Linked DNA regions of Homo sapiens: all the other regions are linked to region 4. The links are contacts of gene promoters, found by promoter capture Hi-C in blood cells and fetal thymus (Javierre and others, 2016). All regions are on one chromosome and are shown on one strand. The core of a region is centred on a gene start or on the middle of the fragment in contact, and the rest is flanking DNA. Distances in the headings are between cores, read along the strand shown.

Region 1 (2,842 bases), core at 58-2,557, 310 kb before region 4:
CCAAGTCTACCAAGTTGAATAGTAATGAATGAAACTTGTACATGAATGAAAAGGCCCCAAAGACGCTCACGGCAATCCTTGAAAGTTATAAAGGAACATTTTCTTACAGGTGCAAAATTGTGAACAAATACCCAATGTCTGCCTCCCGGGTGCTCAACACCATCATTTTGATGAACCATCCGGGTCTTCCCAACTCGAATTATTAAAAACGCCTCGATCCCGCTCTGCTTCTAGGCTTACGGCTGATGTAGACAAGATCCACTCACCGATACAAGGGTGGAGAGCACAGCCGTTCAGGGTACCCCAGGGACCAGTGCTGCAATGGGAATCTGCTTGTCTCACCCTCCAGCAGAGTCAGCCTAGGAGGCTCCAGAGCAGTTGCTTGGCTCTCTTTTGGAGGACAATTGTTCCTTAATGTACATTCTCTCTCTTTTTTTTTTTTCGAGACGGAGTCTCGGTCTGTTGCCCAGGCTGGAGTGCAGTGGCGCGATCTGGGCTCACTGCAAGCTCTGCCTCCCAGGTTCATGCCATTCTCCTGCCTCAGCCTCCTGAGTAGCTGGGACTACAGGCACCCGCCACCACGCCTGGCTAAGTTTTTTTTTTTTTTGTATTTTTAGTAGAGACGGGGTTTCACCGTGTTAGCCAGGAGATGGTCTCAATCTCCTGACCTCATGATCCGCCCGCCTCGGCCTCCCAAAGTGCTGGGATTACAGGCGTGAGCCACCGCACCCGGCCAATGTACATTCTCTAAAGTCACCTGTCAATAACACACTAGGCCTGCCTCCTGCCTGCTATAAATATCCTCAACAGGTTATAAACAGCAGCAGGCTACCTGTGTTCATTGCAAGTAAATTACTCATCATTTGTAGGTTAAAAGCATAGGCCCGACTTCTTAAATAAACATAGGGAATTTGCTGCAGCAGCAGGCCAGAAACCACTGTTTCAAATCTGCAAGATTTTCCTATCAGGTGGGAAGACAGAGATAAGAAATATGGTAAGGCCTGAAAAATTGCAAAAGTAGAAGCAAGTCAGGTTTGCTGATCTAAGAGCTAAGTTTGATCCCAAATGCACTGAAGAAGTTAGAGGAGCTTAAAGAAGTCTCAGGAAGCATTTTTTAAAATGTGAAAACATCAGGCTCACTATAGCTTCCAAAGAACAACATAAACGAGCATCAGCAGTCATACAATGACAGTATCAGAAATGGCACTCAAGTGCATCCCCCCAGTACAATGCATTGCACACAACACAATAAGACATAGTAAAAAACATTAACACAAAACAGGAATTCTACAGCAAAGATGCAAAACTGAATTCTAAAATACAGGAACAAATACTTTTCTAAATGAAAAGTTTTCCATACTTTTCTTAAAAAAAAAAAAAAAAAAAAGTCATAAGATGCCCCATATGGGAAAGTCAAGAAAAGAATAAATAGAGCTGAAGGGAAGAGGGAAAAGGGAGAAACAGGTGGGCAGAGTCCCAATTTACAAGAATTATTTACATTCAGAATCCAGAAGAACTCAACATTTCTCTATATATACATTTATGTACATATATATAAATACAGCACAAAATTAGAGGGTGGGTTTTGGATTTTATCTCAAGTACTCAAAAAAAAAATGCTAGCGAGCTTGAGTTGCAGGTATTTAGGTGTGTTTCTGTCACTTAAAAGACACTGCATTTGTATCAGACAACTGGCATTCAATGAGACATTTTTTTTTTTTTTTGCAGTTTTTGCTCTCAGCTGTAGCCCTGACATGAAACGCTTGCTACGTTTCTGCAGCAAAGTGGGCCGAGCGCAGTACGCACAGGTGTGGTGTTAGCCAGGGAGACCGAAGCCACACAGAAGGGGAGTCAGTAAATGTCCATCTCCACGGTGTCTGCCTTTGCCATTGGGAGGCCTGAACTAATCAAACGTTCATTAATAGGATCCCAGCCTAACAGCAACGCTTATGTAGCACCATTCTTAGAAACTACCAAGTATCACACAGGTACATGTGTATGGGGACCTTCCTCTTGACTGCTTGTCAAGAAAAGGATCCAGAGGGAACTTCTGCCCCTACTTCCATGAAGTGAGATGCAACAATCATTTCCAATCTATTTTTTTATCTCATGCTAAAATGAAAGTGGAGGGGAGAGGGAAGAAGGCTCCCATTCTACAATTATAAATGCTGTCCTGGTAGCCTTTCTTCTCTTGCCGGCTAACAATTGTTCTAACAGCATCCCATGGAGGCCAGCAAATGAATGCCCCAGGGACTACAGCCAGAAAATTGTGCCTGTAAAATATCATATTCCTCTGGAGCTTGGTAATATAGAAATTTTACCTCTACAGATGAGGCAAACTAAAATATTGTTGTAACTCAAAAAGGCTTCTGAAGTGCTGAGTTAGAATAAATATATATAGATACATACACACACTACATTGCTTTGGATGCAGGTTCTTACTAATTTATATACACATGTAAAGAGAAGATACTGAAGTGTCTAACTGTAATTTAGCAGCAGAAAAAGAAAACTGCTTAACATATTTGCTTCTTAATCAAGTTGTGTTTAAAGAAATGCATTAATACTCCTATGAATTTGTATCATTGATAGTGTATCTGGATAATCCCAGTAACTACAGACAGAGACCTTGTGGTATGGAGGTTGCTAAATGAGGGGAACACTAATTCCCCCAGAGATAACATCTGAGCTGCTTTAGACTCTGGAAGTGGTTTTCAGTACAATTGACGCTGTAAACTCTGAAAACACGAACATGATTTCCAACCAAATCTTTGTGCTCAGAGCCATATTGCTAAAAAGAAAAAGGCATTGCAGAGGCAAAGTGGACATGGGGTTAATTAAA
Region 2 (3,250 bases), core at 437-2,936, 270 kb before region 4:
AAGTCAATAAAGATTTGCTAACTGAACCTTAACATTCTAAAACACACTGGCACACATTGTCTTTCAGCTTACAGAATTGTTTTCATGTGAGCAGAGGTATGAGTAACTCAAGTCCATTAGCTGTACAAATACTGAAACCAGTCTGCCCAAGCCATAACTATCTACATCGCATATGATTTGGTGACCTATAGTGCAAGGTATGCCACCTGTCTAAACTGCACCCTTATGGCATATAAACTATAAAAGAAAGATAAAAATAACACTGAAAATTGAGAGAATCAACTGGTGTGCACTGTACACTTGAGAGCACATCTCAATTTGGACTGGTCACTTACACTGTTCAATAGCCACATGTGATGAGTGGCTACTGCCTGTCAGTGTTTAGCATATAGGAATCCACAAACCAACAATAGTGGCTAGCACTCACTATGCTTTCTGTGGAGTAACATCAAAGTTTTCCAAAAAGTGTCCCCTTATATACATAGCTATTATTATTGTCATCTCACAGATGAGTCAATATTTATTGAATGACCAACTGAATAAAAAGATTTCATACCTTATTTAACGAATGAACCAAAATGTTTTTTGCTCCAATATCCCTTAAATCTCTTTCAGCATCATACTTTAAGTCATTTGAAACACTAAACCTGCCAAAATATTAAAAAGCACAAATTAAATACAAATTATATCATTCTAGAATTCAGGAATAAAATTAATAAAGCCAGGTCTTGACACTTAAAAAAAAAAAAAAAAAGAAAAAGAAAATACACTTACTCATTAAAACACCATCCCACTGAGTGCAGTGGCTCACACCCATAATCCTAGCACTTTGGGAGCCTAAGGCAGGAGGACTGCTTGAGCCCAGGAGTTCGAGACCAGCCTGAGCAACACAAGAAGAGCCCGTATCTACAAAAAATTAGCCAAGCATGGTAGTGCATGCCTGTAGTCCCAGCTACTCAAGAGGCTGAGGCAGAACTGCTTGAGCCCCTGAGGTAGAGGCTGCAGTGAGCCATGAATATGCCACAGCACTCCAGCCTGGGTGACAAAGATCCTGTCTAGATGGGGAAGGCGGATCCCATCCCCACATGCTAAAGTAATTACTAACAAAACCTTCCATTGAGACGGAGTCGCACTCTGTCACCCAGGCTGGAGTGCAGAGGAACAATGTCGGCTCACTGCAAGCTATGCCTCCAGGGTTCACGCCATTCTCCTGCCTCAGCCTCCTGAGTAGCTGGGACTACAGGAACCCACCATGACGACCGGCTGATTTTTTGTACTTTTAGTAGAGACGGAGTTTCACTGTGTTAGCCAGGATGGTCTCGATCTCCTAACCTCGTGATCCGCTGCGCCTGGCCCACAGCCAGTTTTTAAACACTTACCACAATGCTCGTTTTCTACTCAACAAATAATTTTCATAGATGATTCCTGCTATCGTCCTTCCTTTTCCTACACCGGCACCATCACCTATTAAGAAGCCAGCACGATCTCCATTAGGTAGGAAAGTTTCATGTTGCTGAAAAACAAAAGGCTGGTAATTAATATAATCCTTCAGATATTTTGGTGATCAATCTTTCATACACTGTTTTAGGAGTAGGAATATGTTATGTTTTTTGTTTTGTATATGTATTTTGTGACTTTATTTTTACATAAATTTCATAGAGTTTTGGATTTTTTTTTGAGACGGAGTCTCGCTCTGTCGCCCAGGTTGGAGTGCAGTGGCGCGATCTTGGCTCACTGCAATCTCTGCCTCCCGGGTTCACACCATTCTCCTTCCTCAGCCTCCTGAGTAGGTGGGACTACAGGCGCCCGCCACCACGCCTGGCTAATTTTTTCTATTTTTAGTAGAAACGGGTTTCACCATGTTAGCCAGGATGATCTCGATCTCCTGACCTCGTGATCCGCCCGCCTCAGCCTCCCAAAGTGCTGGGATTACAGGTGTGAGGCACTGCACCCAGCCAAATTTTATAGTTTTGGCTTTAATGTGGATACTTTCTTTTTTTTCTTTTTTTGAAACGGGGTCTCGCTCTGTTGCCAGGCTGAAGTGCAGTGGCACAATCTCGGCTCACTGCAACCTCTGAATTCCTGTTCAAGCTATTCTCCTGCTTCAGCCTCCCGAGTAGCTGGGATTACAGGTATGCACCACCACGCCCAGCTAATTTTTTGTATTTTTAGTAGACAGGGTTTCACCACGTTGACCAGGATGGTCTCGATCTCCTGACCTCATGATGCACCCGCCTTGGCCTCCCAAAGTGCTGAGATTACAGGCACGAGTCACCGCGCCCAGCTCAATGTGAATACTTTCTACATATTTACTGTATATTATCTCCTGCTACTCTTCCATGCACCAGGTAATGAAAGTTAACAAATTAGTGAGGAGCCCGCCATACCCCTTATCAACACCTGCAGAATCAAACAGGTTTTTGTTTGTTTTTGTTTTGTTTTGTTTTTGAGACAGTTTTGCTCTTGTTGCCCAGGCTAGAGTGCAATGGCACAATCTCGGCTCACCGCAACCTCCGCCTCCTGAGTTCAAGTGATTCTCCTGCCTCAGCCTCCCGAGTAGCTAGGATTACAGGCATGTGCCACCACGCACAGCTAGTTTTTGTATTTTTAGTAGAGACAGGGTTTCACCATGTTGGCCAGGCTGGTCTCGAACTCCCAACCTCAGGTGATCCGCCAGCTTCAGCCTCCCAAAGTGCCCGGCCAGTGGTTTTTTAGTTTTTTTCAGACAGAGTCTCACTCTGTCGTCCAGGCTGGAGTGCAGTGGCACAATCTCAGCTCACTGCAACCTCCACCTCCTGGGTTCAAGTGATTCTCCTGACTTAGCTTCCCAAGTAGATGGCACTAGAGGTGTGTACCACCATGCCTGGCTAATTTTTGTATTTTTGGTAGAGACAGGGTTTCACCACGTTGGCCAGGCTGGTCTCTAACTCCTGACCTCAGGGTGACCCGCCTGCCTCAGCCTCCCAAAGTACTGGGATTGGGCCGGGCACGGTGGCTCACACCTGTAATCCCAGCACTTTGGGAGGCCGAGATGGGTGGATCATGAGGTCAGGAGATCGAGACCATCCTGGCTAACACGGTAAAACCCCATCTCCACTAAAAACAGAAAAAATTAGCCGGGCGTGGCGGTGGGTGCCTGTAGTCCCAGCTACTCGGGAGGCTGAGGCAGAAGAATGGCATGAACCTGGGAGGCGGAGGTTCCAGTGAGCCAAGATCGCACCATTGCACTCCAGCCTGGACGACACAGTGA
Region 3 (2,819 bases), core at 164-2,663, 290 kb before region 4:
CAGGAGAATTGCTTGAACCTAGGAGGCGGAGGTTGTAGTGAGCCGAGATGGCGTCATTGTGCTCCAGCCTGGGCGACAAGAGCAAAAAACTCCCTCTCAACAAAACCCCAAAAAACCCACAAACTTATTGTACCAAAGATTCAAAAAAGCAATTCTCAATTATCTTTATATGTATTTATTTATTTTTTCTTTTTTTGGAGACAGAGTTTTGCTCATCGCCCAGGCTGGAATGTAATGGCACGATCTCTACTCACTGAAACCTCCGCCTCCTGGGTTCAAGCGGTTCTCCTGCCTCAGCCTCCCAAGTAGCTGGGATTATAGGTGCCCGCCACCATGCCCAACTAAATTTTTTTTTTCTTTGAGACGGAGTCTTGCTCTGTTGACAGGCTGGAGTGCAGTGGTGTAAACTCGGCTCACTGCAACCTCTGCATCCCAGGTTGAAGTGATTTTCCTGCCTCAGCCTCCCAAGTAGCTAGGACTACAGGCGCACACCACCACGCCCAGCTAATTTTTCTATTTTTAGTAGAGACAGGGTTTCACCATGTTGGCCAGGATGGTCTCGATCTCATGACCTCGTGATCCACCCACCTCGGTCTCCCAAAGTGCTGGATTACAGGCGTGAGCCACTGTGCCCAGCCACGCCCAACTAATTTTTGTATAATTTTTTGAGACAGAGTCTTGCCCTATTGCCCAGGCTGGAGTGCAGTGGCATGATCTCGGCTCACTGCAACCTCCGCCTTCCAAGTAGCTGGGACTACAGATGCATGCCACCACGCCCATCTAATTTTTGTAGAGATGGGATTTCACTATGTTGGTCAGGCTGGTCTCGAATTCCTGACCTCAGGTGACCCACCTGCCTTGGCCTCCTATATTCTGGGATTATAGGTGTGAGCAACTGATCCCGGCCTAATTTTTGTATTTTTTTTTTTTTTTTAGTACAGATGTGGTTGCACCACGTTGGCCAGGCTGGTCTCGAACTCCTGACCTCAAGTGATCCACCTGCCTTGGCCTCCCAAAGTGCTGGGATTACAGACATGAGCCACAGCGCCTGGCCTTTATATATATTTTATACTGCCTAGTTCATGTCTCTACACATAAAAAACATGAGAAAAATTAACTTCCTTTGCTTCTGAGAACTCACAGTTAATTCAGTCTCATTTATTCTTGTTTTCCAAAAGGAATAAAGACAACTACATTGCTGTACTGATACTTAACATGCGATCTAACATACATGTGAAATTCTGTCTTATAGGAAGCCATGATTTTAAAGCAAATGCATAGGAGAGGCAGTTTTGTTTTAGACAGTAACTACTTTCCTTTTGTGTTCCCGAAAGACACCATACACTATCACAAGTTTTCAGAGATACTGAAAATTGAAATGTACCTTATTATCAAAGTTGAACCTGCTCAGATCTCTAGATTCTGTTGCCCTTCTATCACCATGTGTAAGTGCCCCCTGTTAAAAACAAAAATTTCAATCAAGGCACAGGTAACCTTTTACCAGAAAACAGGTACAATAGATCATCATTTACACACAGCCACACAACTCCAAAACTCACCAAACTCTCAAGTCTTTTAGCAACAATAGATGCAAATCTTTGTTCTCCTGCCAGTTCAGATATCAGAAAGACATACTCAGGAGCAGTAACTTGGTTTGATCTATGAGTACGTCCTGCAACGAAATTTTGTTTTAAAGATCATTGATTGTGTTCGCTGGACAGAGAATATTCTGAGATGTATTCCTAGCATTTAACACTAAACTGGTATTGGGAAACCACTAAACAATAAAAATTACAGATAATGTAAAATTACCATAACACACATAAAACTGCTCAATGACAGAAGTATTAGCATTGCTACCCCAATTTTGCTTAACCACATGTTACTGATGCACAATTACTCTGGATTTTCCCAAAATTGTTTTTCAAATCATTGGTCACAAGAACATGAAGATGGAGGGAGGAGCTATGGGCCTTTGGTGAAGCTACTGAGGTTGGAAACACATATAGAAGTAGCAGCTTCTCTGATATGGACCTAATACATCCTTAAGTTTTATAAGGACACTCCTTGAGGAACCCTGTTCTTGGAACCCCACAAATTCCCACCACATATATATTTTTTACAACTTGTAAACAAGCAAAAAATGAATCCACAATGCATCATATACTATAAAGTATATATATAACACTCCTTAAATGCAAGATCTGAGATTTCGAGATAAGATATAAGACATTAAACAGGATTTTTTTGTTGTTGTTAGAGTTTCGCTCTTGTTGCCAAAGGTAGAGTGCAATGGTGTGATCTTGGCTCACTGCAACCTCCGCCTCCCGGGTTCAAGCGATTCTCCTACCTCTGCCTCCTGAGTAGCCAGGATTACAGGCATGCACCACCACGCCCGGCTAATTTTGTATTTTTAGTACAGACAGGGTTTCTCCATGTTGGTCATCCTGGTCTTGAACTCCCGACCTCAGGTGATCCACCCACCTCAGCCTGCCAAAGTGCTGGGATTACAGGCGTGAGCCGCTGCGCCCAGCCTGTTTTTGTTTTTTGAGACAAGGTCACGCTCTGTCACCCAGGCTGGAGTGCAGTGGTGAAATCATATCTCACTGCAACCTTGAACTCCTGGACTCAAGTAATCCTCCTACCTCAGCCTCCTGAGTAGCTGGGACTACAGGCACACGCCACCACACCCAGCAAGTTTTTCTTTTCTTCTTCTTTTTTTTTTTTTTTTTGAGATGGAATCTCCCTATGTTGCCCAGGCTGGAGTGCAATAGCGTGATCTCAGCTCACTGCAGCCTGCGCCTCCCAGGTTCAAGCAA
Region 4 (2,939 bases), core at 93-2,592:
CCTGGCTAATTTCTGTATTTTTAGTAGAGACGGGGTTTCACCATATTGGCCAGGCTGGTCTCGAACTCCTGACCTTGAGATCTGCCCGCTTTGGCCTCCCAAAGTGGTGAGATTACAGGCGTGAGCCACCGTGCCAGGCCAATAATTTCTTTATGGCCAGTTTTTTCACAGAAAGGTGGAGAGAGAGTAATATTTTTAGGTTTTATGGCTGACTGTGGAGAAAAGGGATTCCTGTTTCTATGCTCCGTCATGGGCAAGAGGGATTCTTGAGTTTCTATGGCTAGCCTCAGAGAATCAGAGATCAGAGAGGGAGCAGAAGGTCAGAGAGAAACTTGCTTCTGAGGCTGCCTCTGGGGCCTTCATTTTGGGGTTTCGTTTTCAGAGCCTCAACAGGAGCAAGCCATGCACATAGGTGGAGGAGATAGGCCCTCATAGAGGGCACATAATGAGTGGTCAATAAAAGTTTGCTGAGTGAAGGCCGGGCGCGGTGGCTCACGCCTGTAATCCCAGCACTTTGGGAGGCCGAGGCGGGCGGATCACGAGGTCAGGAAATCGAGACCATCCTGGCTAACACGGTGAAACCCCGTCTCTACTAAAAATACAAAAAATTAGCCGGGCGTGGTGGAGGGCGCCTGCAGTCCCAGGTACTCGGGAGGCTGAGGCAGGAGAAGGGCGTGAACCCGGGAGGCGGAGCTTGCAGTGAACCGTTATAGCGCCCAGCCTCCAGCCTGGGCAACAGAGCGAGACTCCGTCTCAAACAACAACAACAACAACAACAACAACAAAAACAGCTTTCTGAGTGAAGTTGTATGTGGACATGAATGGCCCAGGCAAACAGTGAACAGAGGAATGGGACAGTGTTCTTAGTTAGGACTCTGACCCTAACTTCCGGGAAAGTAAACCAACATTCAGGACGTACCGGCCATCGGACCGCAACATTCAGGACGTACCGGCCATCAGCGGGTGCCTGTTTTGCAGGGCTGCTAACCCGGGTCCCCGACACGTTTCTCTGCCCACGGTAGCCAGCCCCGCTGTCCTTCGGCCTGGACGCGGTCCTGTGCTGCCACCTGCCTCCGAGGGGCAGAGAAAGTGGGAGGGCCGGGCCAGAATCCCTCCCGCCAAAACTCCTGCCCGGTGCGGAGAGGCGCCCGGAGCCCAGGGCGCTGTGCGGAGCGGGTGTAACTCCCCAGGCCTGCCCCGCCGCCTGCCTCCACCGTCCCGCGGACGCCTTTCCTCCCTCCCGCGGCGTGGGAGCCTTCGCCGCGCTCCGGAACTCTGCTGCTCCAGCGAAGTTCCCGGCCGGCCGCTGGAGCTGCGGGAAGCGGAAGTGCTCGTTGGGGGTGCACAAGGCGCGTTCGAGCAGCGGCGACCGACGCGGCGAAGGAGCGCGCCATGGAGCATGTGACAGAGGGCTCCTGGGAGTCGCTGCCTGTGCCGCTGCACCCGCAGGTGCTGGGCGCGCTGCGGGAGCTGGGCTTCCCGTACATGACGCCGGTGCAGGTATCGGTTCCCTGGCGTGGGGGAGTGAGGCTGGGAGAGGGGCAGGCACCCGCTGCATCGGACCCACAGGAGGTGATCGGACAGATCTGAGCCCTGGGGCGCTCATCCCTCCAGCTGGGGCTCTTGCCTTGTCTCCAGCTGCCCAGACTGGCGGAATGCGGAGCTGCCCGGCCAGCGAGCCGGCAGAGGGGCCGCGACCCACCCCGCCCTCGGGTGCTGTGGTCTCAAGCCTGGTTCTCATCCTGGCCCTGCTCGCTGTAGCTGTGAGACCTCGGGCAAATGGCTTAACCTCTCCGTGCTTCATTTTCCTTCTCTGTGAAATGACGAAAAAATAACACCCTCCTTATGGGGTTGCTGTGGGGACTAAATAAACCAGTCGGCACACTATGGGAGCTCAGTAAGGGTTACCGTTGTTATGCATCTCTTCAAGAATATTTCTTGAGGACCTGCTATGTGTCAGGAACTCTTCTAGGCTCTGGGGAGTTTGCAGTATTGGCATCTGCTCATAGCCTTACTTTCTAGTGCAAGAGCTAGAGAAAGGATAATTTCAGCTGCTGGTAAGTGTTATGAAAGAACTAAGACGGTTGTGATAGTGTCGCGCGAGGACTGCAGAGGAGGTGAGATAGGGTGTTAAGGAAGGCCTCTCTGAGGAGGTGCATTGAGCTGAGACCTCAGTGATTGAGAAGGAGCTGGCTCTGAGGTGACTAGGGGGAGATTATTCCACTGGAGAGAAATACCAGTGCACATAAATGCCCTGCGGCAGGCTGCAAATAGTTTGAGCAGCAGAAAGGAGGCCTTTGTGGCTGAACATCAAGAGTAGTGTAAGAGATGGATTGTGCAGGGTCTTGTAGGCGCTTGGATTTCATTCTAAATGTAGTGGGAAGCCATCTTATCTGGGAGGATGTTTAGGAAGGGAAGGGCTGTGATTTCTCTGTAGAGAGTGGCCTTTCCAGGCATAAGAGATGAAGCAGGCAGGTCGCTTAGGAGGCCATTGTCAGGTAAGAGATGATGGTGACTTGGAGTAGGGTGGAACCAGTGGATACTGAGAAGTCACATTTGGGATAGCTTTAAGGTTGCTAAGGGACTGGAAGTGGAGGTTAGGAAAGAAAAGACTACAGGACCTGAGGTTTTTATTCTTTTTTTTTTTTTTTTTGAGATGGAGTCTCGCTCTGTTGCCCAGGCTGGAGTGCAGTGGCGCGATCTCGGCTCACTGCAACCTCCGCCTCCTGGGTTCAAGCAATTCTCTGCCTGAACCTCCCAAGTAGCTGAGATCACAGGTGCCTGCCACCATGCCCGGCTAATTTTTTGTATTTTTAGTAGATACGGGGTTTCACCATCTCGGCCAGGTTGGTCTTGAACTCCTGACCTCCTGATCCACCCGCCTTGGCCTCCCAAAGTGCTGGGATTACAGGCTGAGCTACCGCACCCGGCTGATTTTT

Evidence for each region. The method cuts DNA at HindIII sites, captures the fragments that hold promoters and counts their contacts. A CHiCAGO score of 5 or more calls a contact.
Region 1: a contact is called between a fragment that was not itself captured here and the fragment with the promoter of DDX55 in region 4, in 1 of 17 cell types (activated CD4 T cells). The highest score is 5.1, in activated CD4 T cells.
Region 2: a contact is called between a fragment that was not itself captured here and the fragment with the promoter of DDX55 in region 4, in 10 of 17 cell types (total CD8 T cells, megakaryocytes, M2 macrophages and 7 more). The highest score is 7.5, in total CD8 T cells.
Region 3: a contact is called between a fragment that was not itself captured here and the fragment with the promoter of DDX55 in region 4, in 6 of 17 cell types (erythroblasts, M0 macrophages, megakaryocytes and 3 more). The highest score is 6.4, in erythroblasts.

The regions. Positions count from the first base shown.
Region 1 is chr12:123,290,313-123,293,154 of GRCh38, forward strand. SBNO1 (strawberry notch homolog 1) reads right to left here. Exons shown (of 32, transcript NM_001167856.3): 32 at 1-2,842. Among named protein-coding and RNA genes, the nearest start is that of CDK2AP1, 20 kb to the left of the region's middle. The HindIII fragment of the contact is 3,566 bases long and covers 1-2,842 here.
Region 2 is chr12:123,329,863-123,333,112 of GRCh38, forward strand. SBNO1 (strawberry notch homolog 1) reads right to left here. Exons shown (of 32, transcript NM_001167856.3): 8 at 1,380-1,513; 9 at 557-647. Among named protein-coding and RNA genes, the nearest start is that of MIR8072, 33 kb to the right of the region's middle. The HindIII fragment of the contact is 8,023 bases long and covers 1-3,250 here.
Region 3 is chr12:123,313,989-123,316,807 of GRCh38, forward strand. It overlaps SBNO1 (strawberry notch homolog 1), which reads right to left. Exons shown (of 32, transcript NM_001167856.3): 22 at 1,560-1,672; 23 at 1,385-1,456. Among named protein-coding and RNA genes, the nearest start is that of CDK2AP1, 44 kb to the left of the region's middle. The HindIII fragment of the contact is 8,873 bases long and covers 1-2,819 here.
Region 4 is chr12:123,600,757-123,603,695 of GRCh38, forward strand. It overlaps DDX55 (DEAD-box helicase 55), which reads left to right and starts at 1,343. Exons shown (of 14, transcript NM_020936.3): 1 at 1,343-1,500. The coding sequence starts at 1,393. RefSeq lists a silencer at 1,705-1,814 and an enhancer at 2,055-2,104. The HindIII fragment of the contact is 10,701 bases long and covers 1-2,939 here.